Linked DNA regions of Homo sapiens: region 2 is linked to region 1. The links are contacts of gene promoters, found by promoter capture Hi-C in blood cells and fetal thymus (Javierre and others, 2016). All regions are on one chromosome and are shown on one strand. The core of a region is centred on a gene start or on the middle of the fragment in contact, and the rest is flanking DNA. Distances in the headings are between cores, read along the strand shown. Region 1 holds the start of CFAP61-AS1 (CFAP61 antisense RNA 1). Region 2 overlaps CFAP61 (cilia and flagella associated protein 61).

Region 1 (6,637 bases), core at 3,048-5,547:
TTCACAACCCATTGTTCTCTTTCTTGGTGTTGCCTGAACAGTTCTTCCCACAAATACACAGACTCGAGTTGCATGCCACTTTTTAAATCGAAATGAAAAAGGGAAACATTTGTGCAAATGCCTCTGCCACTCAAAAGTGTATTCTCAAGCATCTTTCTATTGCTTGAATTTCATTGAAATCATTCAGCTAGTGAAACAACCAGAAGAGAGCCTGGCTACCTTTGTGTCTTTAATTGAAACCTAGGAGTCAAGGTTTGGAGATAACTTAGAGCAGCCCCTTTCTTTTGCCTAAAAGTGAGAAGATGGTTAGTGACCTGGTTGAGTTCCACAGCCACCTGTGGTTTAGAGTTCAGTCCAGGGATGTAAAACCACTAAGTGCCCAGAAAGTGAGCATCACTGTGTAAAATTAAACATGCTAATTTATTTAATACATGTATATAAATATAATCTAATTATATTTGTTAATACATTAAAATTAAATATAATTTATTCTGATTTTTGGTGGACCATTTAGGTATTAACTTTTGCCAAGTTATAACATTTACTGCATTAAGAAGTTACTAATTTACTACATTCAACATTTTAAAATGAGTATCAAAGGGCATTCAGTGCGTTGCTGGATTCAATTTGCTGATACTATTTATAGGCTATTTGCCTCTAAATTCATAAATGAGATTGACCTGTAGTTCTCTCTTTTATGCATTGCTTGTCAGGTTTTTGGAATCAAGGGTATGCTAGTCTCACAAAGCATTTTTGGAAGCTCCCCATATTCTTTGGGGATCTGAAATACAAAGTAACTTAAGGGTTGCACAGAAATTACCCATAAAACCAACTGAGTCTGGAACCTTTGGGTAGAGGTGGGATATATAGATAGATTATACCGGCAACCCAGATTTTTTAAATGTCATAAAGTATTTCATACTTTCATCCAAGCTTGGAATTATTTTCAGTTTTGCATCTATGTATGTTTAAACCTGTTTTAGCCTTTTAGTCATTCTGTAGTAATCACCCCATGATCTATGTAGACTCAGAGTATTTTCTTATCAGGGAAAATTCTCTAATCCATGGGTTGGTGAATTTTTACTGTAAAATACCAGTAAATATCACTCTGGGGGGCCAAGGTGAGAGGATCACTTGAGCCCAGGAGTTTGAGACCAGCCTGGGAAACACGGGAAAACCCCACCTCTACAAAAAATACAAAAATTAGCTGGGCATGGTGGTGTACACCTGTAGTCCCAGCTACCTGGGAGGCTGAGGTGGGAGGATCAATTGAGCTTGGGAGGTCAAGGCTGCAGAGAGGCATGATTATGCCACTGCACTCCAGCCTGGGTGACAGAGCAAGACCTTATCTTAAAAATTTTTTTTCTTTTAGACTTTGCAGGCCATATGGTCTCTGTTGCAACTCTTCAACTCTGCTCATTTAGTGAGCAAGCAACTATAGACAATATGTAAATGAATGGGCAGGTTTGTGTTCTGATAAAATTTATTTATTAAACCAGACATGAGCTGTAGTTTGTAGTAACCAGCTTTTAGCCATAACATTTTTGACAAATCATTACCATTTCATGAAGTCCAGACCTCCAAATGTACCATAAGTTCCCCAAAAGCAGAAAAGCCAGTGGTTCAAGACAAAATGCACAGTTCATCTTTAAGACTGCACCCAATCCTGTCAGCCTGCAGTGCTGTGCTTTAACTTTGAACCTTTGTGTGTTTTGGTTGTTTGGGCTAGGGAGCATTTGACCAAGAAAAGAGCCTTCGAAAGTGGCACTGCAAGGTCTTAAGGTGGAATATTGATAGCAGAGAATTTAGAAACCCCAAAGCAAGAAGCGCTGTAGTCTCTTTCATGTGCCTTTGTATTGTCCTCTTGGTTCTCAGATGGAGGAAGAGCATCAGTGTTATTCTGCTGACTTGCCCAGTTGTCAGGGATGGTGATGCTGTGGTGCCCCCTTAAAGGGAAATGTTTTTTCAAGATTTAAGACTGACTCCCAGCAGCCAGTGCATAAAGCCATTTGGAGTGCCTGCTTTTGTCCACCAAATAGCCAGGATAAGAAGTATGTGGAAATTAGTTTCCTGTCTTACATGTAGGTGATTTTCTCCAGGTCTGGTGCTTAATGACTCCCCCAGGCACCTCTCAGGTAGGTGCTCTTAACACTGAAATGCTAGGACCAAGCTCTGGGAGCCTTCAGGGAAACCTGACCTGGCCAAGTTCATTTAACTCTGTGTAGAGGCCCTTTTCAAGTAAATTCTCAAGTAAAAAAAGTTAAGAAAAAATGTTAACATCTTGCCTTAAAAAAACTTTCTCCTCTTTGTATCTTTTCTGTAATCCAGGTCATACTCAGACATAACTTTAGTCCCATTCAGACCTTATTCTTGCCATTATTATTCTTGCAGCATCACTGGATCACAGTCCAAATCTCAGAGCAGAGGAGGCCTAGGACAGAAAGCCCGTCCCCACCTGAGCCAAGAACCAACAACCACAGACAGAATTATACCCACAGAGGCTCCCAGGAAATGCAGCAAAGAGTAGGATCCAGTGTGAGAGGAGGCCTCGAGGTAGAGCCTCCTAAATAAACCATTGGCTTCTCTGGCAGGCTGAAATACATTTAGCTGGGAGGGCATTCCATATAGAAATACAAATTCATGCCAAATCACTTCAGTCACCTTGTGACCTCTATTTCTTAACTGAGACTTTGGGTATATGATACTTGAGTTTCATTGCTGGGCTTTCAAATCCCTTTTCATACTGCAGAAAGCCTAGTGATCTTTCCAGAACTGCATTTTGAAAAGAATATAGCTGTTGCAGCATTGCTTCTGAGACATCTACAGTACCATACTTGGCTGAAGCTCCAAGCCATTTCTTTGATAATTTCAGCTCTACTCTATCTCAGTGTCACTTGTATCCAGCATAGTGCCTGGCACATAGTAAATGCAAAATAAATGTTTTACTGAATGTAAGTGAAGACAGTTCAGGATGTAACTCTTTTCCTTACCTCCCACATGGTGAGTTTTATCAAAACTTTTTGCATTCGGCCTACCTGGAAATAGATGGTCAATTGAGATGAAGACAAGAGAACCCTTGAATGAAATTGAAGCTATTCTTTAAAAATTCATCCTTAGTAATGAGAGTAATAACATGCTGGCTACACAGGATGAGTTAAGCTCCTCCTCACGAATAACAGACATTTATAAAGTCAGTCTAGCTCAGGTTCTGGAGTCACGTGACTTGGGTTCAAATCTTGGGTCTGCCGTTTCCCTGGGCAAGTTACTTAACTGCTTTGTGTCTCAGATTCTAGATAATATCTACCTCACATGGGTTGCTGAGAGGGTGAAAAGAGATAAATGAGATTACATGCCATACTCAGGACAGTCTCTCATACATAGAAAGAGTTTCATAGAGGCTGCCATTAGCATTGCTCTTACTTCTATGTGTGATGGAATTAAAGGTACCCTAGAGTAGAAGTCTCAGCCCTTGCCACCAGGGCCCTGATGAAGTTGAGGATATCAGTCTCTATTTAAAGACAGGGATCCGTGTACACCAGGTGCCAGTCAGCTATAGAGGCACTGTGGCCTTCAGGAGAGCCCTGGAGGCTGTGAAGTTTGGAGAAGGCCTCCCCGAGAAAGGAGGATTTGAGCTCAGTCTTGAAGAGGGACAGGATAAGAAGAGAGAGAGGCTGGGGGAGTTTGGATTGTGTCCAAAAGACACTGGGCCAACAACGTGGGCTGGGCAGAGTCTGTGAAGGGCAGCAGCAGGAGATGAAGCCAGAGGCATGGGCAGGGACAGACACTGGCGGGCCGCAAGCACCCAGCCACGTCCAAGTTTAACTGGTTACCTTTTAGGGATGGGAGCTGACCAGGCGGGTGCCGCTGTACACACATAGCACTTTGGGAAAATGGCCTTTCCATCTGTAGTACCCATGCCAGCAGAGAGAAGGTGACCACGGGAGAATGGCTTACCATGGATGGCAGTAGCCAATAGGGGCGAGGCAGCTGTGGATGCAGGAGCTAGCTGGAAGTGGCCACCCTTGCTGCATGTGGTGGTCTTGCTGACACAGCCACTGCTAGCTTATTTCCAAGTCAGCGATGAGATGGTGGTGTTGCAGGGCTTTTCCGTAGTTCAGCTAAAGATGGGGTCCTTGTCCGTCCCGTGGCCACGAAAACGTAGCCTCGCAGACGGTTTGAAGGGTGAGTTAAACAGGGTTTTACTGGGTGAAAGGAAAAAAATGGGGTGGAGGAGGGGGAAGCAGGATCCTCCGCAAGGCAAGCCGGCTACTTGATTCCCAGGTTCCACACAGGAAGAGGAGGGGCCAGGCTCCTCCCCACTGCAGATGGCATGCATTTCCGGAGGCTCCACCCCAATGTGCAGGCTGGTTGGAGTTTTTCTAGGGACTCCCTCCCACCTGCCTGTCTCATTGGCATTTGAAGCCAGAAGCTAGAAGTCTGGCACATGATGGAAAGCAAGGAGCAGGGCTGTGCTTATGCACGTTTGAAAAGTCGCATGGAGCCATCCGTGACCGTCCTGGACATTTCAGTCCTTGCTTTTTCTTCATGTCACCCTAATAACACCAGGAGGAATGTGGACAGTTTTCATCATAGTTTATTTTTACTCCCTCAGTGCTAATTTCCCCTTTTTTAAATACTTTAGCATGTGAGTTGGGGCAAGGGAGCCAAGGACAGTGAAAAATAGTTTCATCGTGTCCCACTGGCTGTGGTTGGGTGACATGTCCCTCCGGGAACCACACCCTGAATCCTAACAAACACCAGTGCTGATGTTACTGAAGCCCAGGGATGTGAGGGGAGAATGGTGGATGGATTGTTCTAGAACAGTGGATATTGGGCATCAAGAACAAGAGATACTCCCAGGAGGAAGTCGGCTCTCCTTTGAACTTCTACCCATTGCAGACGCACACAGATACCACCCCAGAGAGTAGCTCCTTCCCACAGTCACTGTTGTATTTCACATCTTCTGCTTCCAAAGGAGAACACAGTGGTTCTGTGATGGAATTAGTCCATCCAGAGGACATGGTTTTCCGGGCTCTAGAGTTGGATGGATTTATAGAAGTAAATTACCCTAAACTATTAGAACTGCTCTAGTGCCATGGAGAAGAGCTGACATCACAGGCTCAAATGCTGCTTTCAACTGCAAACAAAACCTGGAGTGTTCTGCTGGGGGGTTTCTGATAGAACCCAGCAACCCGATACATTATAACAATTTATGGCACTAATTGAAACTAATTGAAATTCATCTGCTATTACCTCTGTACTTTCCATGAAAATGAAAAGTAGGATGAAAGTAAAGTAAAAAAAATAAACTACCTTAATGGCTCAAAATGGATCAATTATTTTCATCTTTAGCTAAATACAGTTTACTGCCTTATTAAAAGCATGTTTGTAGGAAAAGTATAACATTAAAATTCCACTGCATGCATCATCGAACAGAGGCTTTGTTATGTTATATCTAATATATTCTTCCCTTTTTATTCAGCAGAGCAGAACGGGACAGGTCACGTTTTGGGCATAGAAATCTTATGCTTTGGCTTCTAAAAAGTAAAAAGCGCATTGTCTGGTTCTATTCGTGGGCTATATATATATATATATATATATATATATACACACACACACACACACATACATATATGTATATACACACACATATATACATATATGTATATATACACATATATACATATATGTATATATATACACGTATATGTGCATATATACATATATATTTCATTAAAATACAAAAGAATAGGTAAATATGCATAGACATAATTTAAAATATATAAACTATAAAATGTAACATACACATATATGTATATGTGTACATATATATATATACACACACATATATAGACAGAATCTTGCTCTGCCATCCAGGCTGGAGTGCAGTGGTGCAATCTAGGCTCACTGCAACCTCTGCCTCTCAGGCTCAAGTGATTCTCCTGCCTCAGCCTCCTGAGAAGCTCAGATTACAGGCATGCACCACCATACCCGGCTAATTTTTGTATTTTTAGTAGAGATGGGGTTTCACCATGTTGGCCAGGCTGGACTCAAACTCCTAACCTCAAGTGATCCTCCCGCCTTCGCCTCCCGAAGTGCTGGGATTACAGGCATGAGCCACCACTCCTGGCCTGTTTTTTAATGAGTGTTTATTTCACAATTTATTAATAATCTGTGATTGCTACTTAAAAATATTTCATTATCTAGTTATTTGCTGAAGATATTTACCCATATAAAATGCCAGTTGGAGTATATTTTAGTAACGTGTTACATATCCATCTGCAAGTGTACTGCAGTGCTATGAGACCTGATTTTGAAATAGACTCACAGGGTTTGAGTCCTGGTGACCCACCTGCTTGCCATGTGACCTGACCTTGAGCTCAAGATTTAACCTCTCTGTACCTTATTTTCTGGATAAAATGATAAACCCTGTCTCACAGGCCTGTTGTGAGGATGAATGAGTCATATGTAACCACTGTATGTCTGTTTTGAAGCAGAAAAAGGAAACATAATTATTCATTAAAATACAAAAGAATAGGTAAATATGCATAGACATAATTTAAAATATATAAACTATAAAATGTAACATATAATTCTTGTTTCTCTGGCCTTAAAAATATAATAACTATGAAGAAAA
Region 2 (6,637 bases), core at 1,605-4,104, 180 kb before region 1:
TGTTTTAGCCTCATCACTAGAAATTCCTGCTGATGCCCTTGCATCATGGAATAAGACTGTTTGGTGGTGATGACATCAGGGCCAGGTTGACAGTTTTAAAAAACAAAGGATCTGGTTGCCTGGTTAAGGACCCTTTGCTGTCTCTCCTTCCAGAGAGTTTTGACAAGAGGTGTATTAGTCCATTCTCACACTACTATAAGGACATACCTGAGACTAGACTATTTATGAAGGAAAGAGGTTTAATTGACTCACAGTTCTGCAGCGCTGGGGAGGCATCAGGAAACTTACAATCATGGTGGAAGGGGAAGCAAACACATCTTTCTTCACAAGGCAGCAAGAAAGAACAATGAGAGCCGAGTGAAAGGGGAGGCCCCTTATAAAACCATCATATCTCCTGAGAACCTTCTCACTATCATGAGAATAGCATGGGGGCAGTCACCCCCATGATTCAATTACCTCCCACCAGCTTCCTCCCATGACATGTGGGGATTATGGGAACTACAATTCAAGATGAGATTTGGGTGGGGACACAGCCAAACCATATCAAGAGGTTAACAAGAAGATTCAACCTGTGGAGTCATGGTGATGGTCCCTCCCATCCCGAGTTGTCATCTTCTGTGTGTGTTTTTTCCTCCTTGTACCGTGGTCTTGTTGGCTGGCTCCCTCCTTCCCTCTGAAGTTTTATAGACCAGAGACCTGGCTTTTCAACTGTGTAGTTCTTCCATCAAGATACTTACTGTTTTTAATGAAAAACCAGCATCATTTCAACCGTTACACTTGTGTCAGCAGAGGCAAAGGTTTCATCCTGGGAGCAGGGTGAAGATTTTCATCCAGAGTGCATGCGGTCATTCAGTTTAAAGCATTTAGACTTAGGAAGTGCAGCTGTGGCAGGATCAGGGGATTCGTTCCTGCAGGGCGCAGGAGGAATGGTGGCAGGGCTGGCAGGACGATAACCTCTGGCCCCTAGCCAAGGACTCCCCTCTCAACTCTTTTGCTTCCAGCTACAAATGTTCAAAAGAAGAGTCAAAATAAAGGAAGATTTTGAAGTGCATTGTCAGCTTAGCAGAGTGTGAAGGCAGGGCTTAAGTCACTAGACCAGAGCTCATATCACGGCTCTGCTGCCAACTATTTCTGTCATCTCAGGCAAAGCATTTCCTCATCCCCATGGGCCTTGCTCTCCTCCCTCTGCAAAGTGAAAATGGCAGTGCCACCCTCCTGGGATCACTGTGAGAAACACAGTAGCAGAAATCATCTGGATAAAGCCCTGAGCTTTATATATATATATATATACTGATCACTCAGTAGATGGAGCTGCTATTAACGTCAAAGAGAACATACTAGAAGATAAAATGGGATGATGAAGATGGTAGCATAGTAAAGCTAGGGGGAGGAAATAGACATTAGTAGCCAAAGCAGATATACTAGAAAAAAATAACACAATGCTGAAACATTTTTACAGAAAGAGTATCAGAGAAAAAAAAAAAAAAGCAAAGTATAAGAACATCCCACACAGGTAAAAAAGAGCACTAAACTTACCCAAGAATGTGCTAAAAAGAAGAAAGGAGTGTTAAATCCTGCAGCAAGATGGAACACAGGAGCTAGCCTCCCCAAGCTGCAATAAATCTGGTTTTTGTTCCCACCTGCCACCGCCCCCTGTGCCAGACTAGTTGTCAAGGTCTCTGTAGAGGGTCCTGAGAATGGAAGCGGAGTGGATGTCCCCAGGAGGGTGAGCAGTGCTCCATCACTTCACCAGCCTTCCCCTCCATGGCAAGTGCAGAGGCATCTCAGGAATAAAGGATGCCATGGGCCAGTGTTTGAAAAATGCATAAACAAGGTTAAATATTCTTTACTGTAGTGCTTCTCAGAGTCTTTAATATGTAACTATGAAACAGGAAGGGACTTATAGTGGTTACTGTTTTTAGGCATTGGAATTCTTTGGGCTGAGAGGATGCTCGGGACAATATCATAGTGGTGTTTCTTAGAACATCCTTGGGAAGTGCTGCCCCTAGTCTCTTGTCCTTTGGCCCATGACAAGTGCTTCCCTGCATCCCACACCCACACATGCCAACTGTGTTCCCTCTGCCTGCAATGTTCCACTTCTAGGTTTCAACATAGCTTCTTCCCTTTCTGTTCATTCAGCTCTCAGCTCAGATGACCCTCCTCATAGAGGTCCTCCCTGACCACTTGACCCTCTCACTCTCTATCCCAAAGCATGTATCATTATTTGAAATGTTTAGAATTGTCTAAATTGGTTACATCTTTATTGTCTGTTTCTCCTATTAGAAGGAAAGTTCAGGCCAGGCGTGGCAGCTCACATTTGTAATCCCAGCACTCTGGGAGGCCGAGGCAGGCAGATCATGAGGTCAAGAGATAGAAACCATCCTGGCCAACATGGTGAAACCCTATCTCTACTAAAAATACAAAAATTAGCTGGGCGTGGTGGTGCATGCCTATAGTCCCACCTACTCGGGAGGCTGAGGCAGGAGAATCGCTTGAACCCGGGAAGCAGAGGTTGCAATGAGCCGAGATCACGCCACTGCATTCCAGTCTGGCAACAGAGTGAGACTCCCTCTCAAAAAAAAAAAAAAAAAAAAAAAAGAAGGAAAGTTGATATCATGAGTGTTGCTCTAGCCCCGGCACTTAGAACAGGGTCTGGCACACAGTTGGTGCCCTGTTGAAGGAAAAAAATGAGTGAACGAACACTGAACTTCAGCCTTTCTATTAAACAGGGTGGAAGACCATGACGATCTCATGCCAATATTTATGCGCTATGACACAATTCTGAAGGAAACTTACGGTGAATACTTCCTGGCCGAACTAATAGAGGCCCAAGATGAAGAGAATCATGCTGTTGTGTGTGAGGTCAGTGACTGATTCATGTGGGAACACACTTAGTGAGAGGAAGGAGGGATGTGAGTGGTGTTGCTCTTGCGTTGCTGGGCACCCCTGGAGCTGCCATTGTCTCCCTGGCCACCCCGGCCCTCCCACTGCCCTTCCAGGTGGTGCACCAGGCCAGCTTCCTCCCCTGGGTTACTGGCTTTAGGTTGTCTTTTGCGAGGTCCTTCCAGATGCCCACGATGCTGTAGATTCTTGCCTTGTCCCTAGAGTGAGAGGGAATGGAAAAGACCCCCCAGGGGTGCGTAGGGGGATTTCTGAGGATCCCCAAATCTCAGACTTCAGAAGTCACAAACCAGCGTTCTGCTGGCAGATGGATTTTGTTTGAGTTGGAAAGGTATTTTTTTTAACTTTTTGTTTTGACATAGTTTCACACTTAAAGAAAGTTTATAACTACCCAGATTCCCCAAATGTTAACATCCAACCCCATTTGTTTTATCATTCTCTTGTTCAACCTTTCTAATTCCCTCTCTCTCTCTCTTTTTCTCTCTTGCTGGCTCTCTCTCTCTCTCTCATGTATATTCTGAACCATTTGAGAGTAAGTTGCATACATAATGCCCCTTTACCTGTAAGTATTTCAATGTATATTTCCTAAAAACAAGGACACTCTCTTAGATAACTGCAATACAATGATCAAAGCCAAGTAATTATGATTCCTGTAATTATTATTATTATTATTATTTTTTGAGATGGAGCCTTGCTCTGTCACCCAGACTGGAGTGCACTGTCATGATCTCGGCTCACTGCAACCTCCGCCTCTCGGGTTCAAGCAATTCTCCTGCCTCAGCCTCCCTAGTAGCTGGGATTACAGGTGTGCGCCACCACGCCCAGCTAACTTTTGTATTTTTAGTAGAGACGGGGTTTCACCATGTTGGCCAGGCTGACCTGAGGTGAACTCCTGACCTCAGGTGATCCGCCCGCCTTGGCCTCCCAAAGTGCTGGGATTACAGGCGTGAGCCACCGTGCCCAGCTAGTTCCTGCAATTCTTTTATCTAATCTACAGACTTCATTCAGATTTTTCTGACAGTCCCAGGAATGTCCTTTATGGCAGAGGTAATTCCAGGCCATTCATTGCATTCAGGTGCTCTGTTTCTTCAGCCTTTTTAAATCTGGAACAATTCTCCGATCCGTCTTTATCTTCCATGACAATTACAGTTTTGAATAGTACAGGTCAGTTATTTTGTAGAATGTCTCCATTTGGATTTGTACAATGTTTTCTCATGATTTGATTCAAGTTATATATGATTAAATATTTTTGAATTAGCAGCTATTGTAAAAATTATGAAAGTCTATGTAAAAATTGGAATTTCTAGCTTTTCTAAACAAATCAGAAGGCCCAGCCTATTGGGCCCAAAAGGCAGCCCACACCCTCTAATTCATGATTCTTCATCTACTCATTTCTCATTATTTGTTAAAACTGTAAGAGCTGTTTAAAGAATATTACTTTTCTTGAAACTTGGAATGAAAAGTTCTCTTACTTGGATGACATGAGCAGTTTGAGGCTTTGTTCTACATCAGTGGTTCTCAAACTTGGCATATATGCAGATCACCTGGGAGGCTTTTAACTATCCATACCATGCCAATGACTTGGATCCAGAATATATACAAAGAACTCTCACAACAATAGAAAAATAATCCACATAAAATGTGGGCAAATGATTCGAATAGACACTTTTAAAAAAAATGAATAAATAAAAGATACAACTGGCCAATAAGCACATGAAAAGACATTCAACATCATTAGTCATTAAGGAAAGGCAAATCAAAACCACACTAAGATACCACTTTACCTCTGCTAGGAGGGTTATAATAAAAAAGCAGGACAATAGCAGATGTTGGCAAGGATGTGGAGAAATTGGAAGCCTCATCCATTGCTGGTAGGAATATAAAATGCTGTGGCCATTTTGGAAAAAGTCTGGTATTTTCTCCAAAAGTTAAACATTTGACCCAGCAATTCCATACACAGAATTGAAAACACATGTCCACACAGAGATGTGTACGCAAATGTTCATAGCAGCATTATTCATAATAGCCAAAAAGTGGAGACAGCCCAAATGTCTATCTACTGATGAATAGATAAACAAGATGTGGTATATCCACACAAGGGAATAGTACCAGGAAATAAAAGAGAACGAAGCACTGATACATGCTACAGCGTGTATGAACCTTGAAAACATGATGCTAAAGAAAAGAAGTCAGTCATAAAGACCACGTATTGTATGATGGCATTTAGATGAAAGCCTAGAATAGACACTTCTGTAGAGACAGAAGGTAGATTAGTGACTGGAGGGAAAGGGGAAGGAGAAGTGACTAATATTGGGCATAGTCGTTGGTTGGTGGGGGGATGAAAATGTTCTGGGATTAGACAGTGGTGATGGGTGTACAATTTTGTGAATATATTAAAAACCATTGAATTGTGTATTTCTTTTTTTTTTTTTTTTTTGAGACAGAGTCTTGCTCTGTTGCCCAGGCTGGAGTGCAGTGATGTGATCTTGGCTGACTGCAACCTCCACCTCCCGGGTTCAAGTGATTCTCCTGCCTCAGCCTCCCAAGTAGCTGGGATTACATGCATGTGCCACCACACCAGGCTAATTTTTGTATTTTTAGTAGAGATGGGGTTTTGCCATGTTGACCAGGCTGGTCTCAAACTCTTGGCCTCAAGTGATCTGCCTCCCAAAGTGTTGGAATTACAGGTGTGAGCCACTGCACCAGGCATGAATTGTGTACTTCTTGAAGGGTTGTTTTTATGGTAGGTGAATTATATCAATTATATCCATTTTTAAAAATCCTGTTGCAGGGGTACACTCAGGCCAATTAAGTCAATCTTTTGGGGGTGAGACACAATCCATATATTTATTTTTAATTTTGGACACTCACTATGTTGCCCAGGCTTTTCTTAAACTGCAGTCCTCCTGCCTCAGCCTCCCAAAGTGCTACGGTTACAGGCATGAGCCACCATGCCTGACCTCAATCTGGATTTTTAAAGATCTCCCCAGATGATTCCAAGGTGCAGTCCAGGTGGTGAAACACTCATCTACATGAGGGTAAAACATACCTGGTGAGAATGACATGACTTTATAGAGATGTGGGTATTAGTTTCTGAAGGTGACAATTGGCCCCTGGAAATTAGATTCTGAAGTACTACATTGAAAGGATTTTTATTTATTTTTTAAATGTTTATTTTATTTTCTTATATTTAGGTTTTGGCATGGTTTCTCAAAGACCCGCTTTCACGTATTCTTGTTTAGCCATTAGCCCCAGGCTACCAGGCTAGCCATAGAAGGGAGGGTTGGAAGCATTTGGGCCCAGCAGTACCATTTGGAAAGCTTGTCTTTACACAACTAGACAGAAACTCCTGAGAAGTGAAATGATTCATACAGACCCCAATAAGGATTTTCATGACCAAACTTTACTTATCAGGTTTAATCAGGGTCTTTGTTTTTGGAAGGCTTTTAATTATTTGGTTCCAAGGTACTAGTTTTACTCTGAATCACTTGAGTCAGTGCTTTGTAGAGAAGCTGCAGTGACCTCTTCCCCCACGTTCTTTCTCTCTCTTGCCGTATGTTTCACACTTTCAGTGTGTGTAAACATCAGAGCAAAGCTGTAGGCTGAAAACTGCAGTTCCAACCCTGCAAGAATCCTTTGGTGTCTCGAAAGAGGCAGAGGGCATCCAGCCCCATCTCCTTCCAGAGGCCGTGCTGCCTCAAGCATCAGAGGCTTTGTGTTCTGTGGAGGGGAGACC

Evidence for each region. Contacts are between HindIII fragments. The CHiCAGO score rates a contact against its expected background, and 5 or more counts as called.
Region 2: a contact is called between a fragment that was not itself captured here and the fragment with the promoter of CFAP61-AS1 in region 1, in 1 of 17 cell types (M0 macrophages). The highest score is 6.2, in M0 macrophages.

What each region holds. Positions count from the first base shown.
Region 1 is chr20:20,263,540-20,270,176 of GRCh38, forward strand. It overlaps CFAP61-AS1 (CFAP61 antisense RNA 1), which reads right to left and starts at 4,298. Exons shown (of 4, transcript NR_183979.1): 1 at 3,955-4,298. The region is part of intron 21 of CFAP61 (cilia and flagella associated protein 61); the gene reads left to right. RefSeq lists an enhancer at 3,527-4,027. The HindIII fragment of the contact is 5,830 bases long and covers 932-6,637 here.
Region 2 is chr20:20,088,115-20,094,751 of GRCh38, forward strand. It overlaps CFAP61 (cilia and flagella associated protein 61), which reads left to right. Exons shown (of 27, transcript NM_015585.4): 7 at 2,730-2,862. LOC124904880 (a long non-coding RNA gene) reads right to left here. Exons shown (of 2, transcript XR_007067553.1): 2 at 6,330-6,637. Among named protein-coding and RNA genes, the nearest start is that of CFAP61, 39 kb to the left of the region's middle. The HindIII fragment of the contact is 6,730 bases long and covers 1-6,219 here.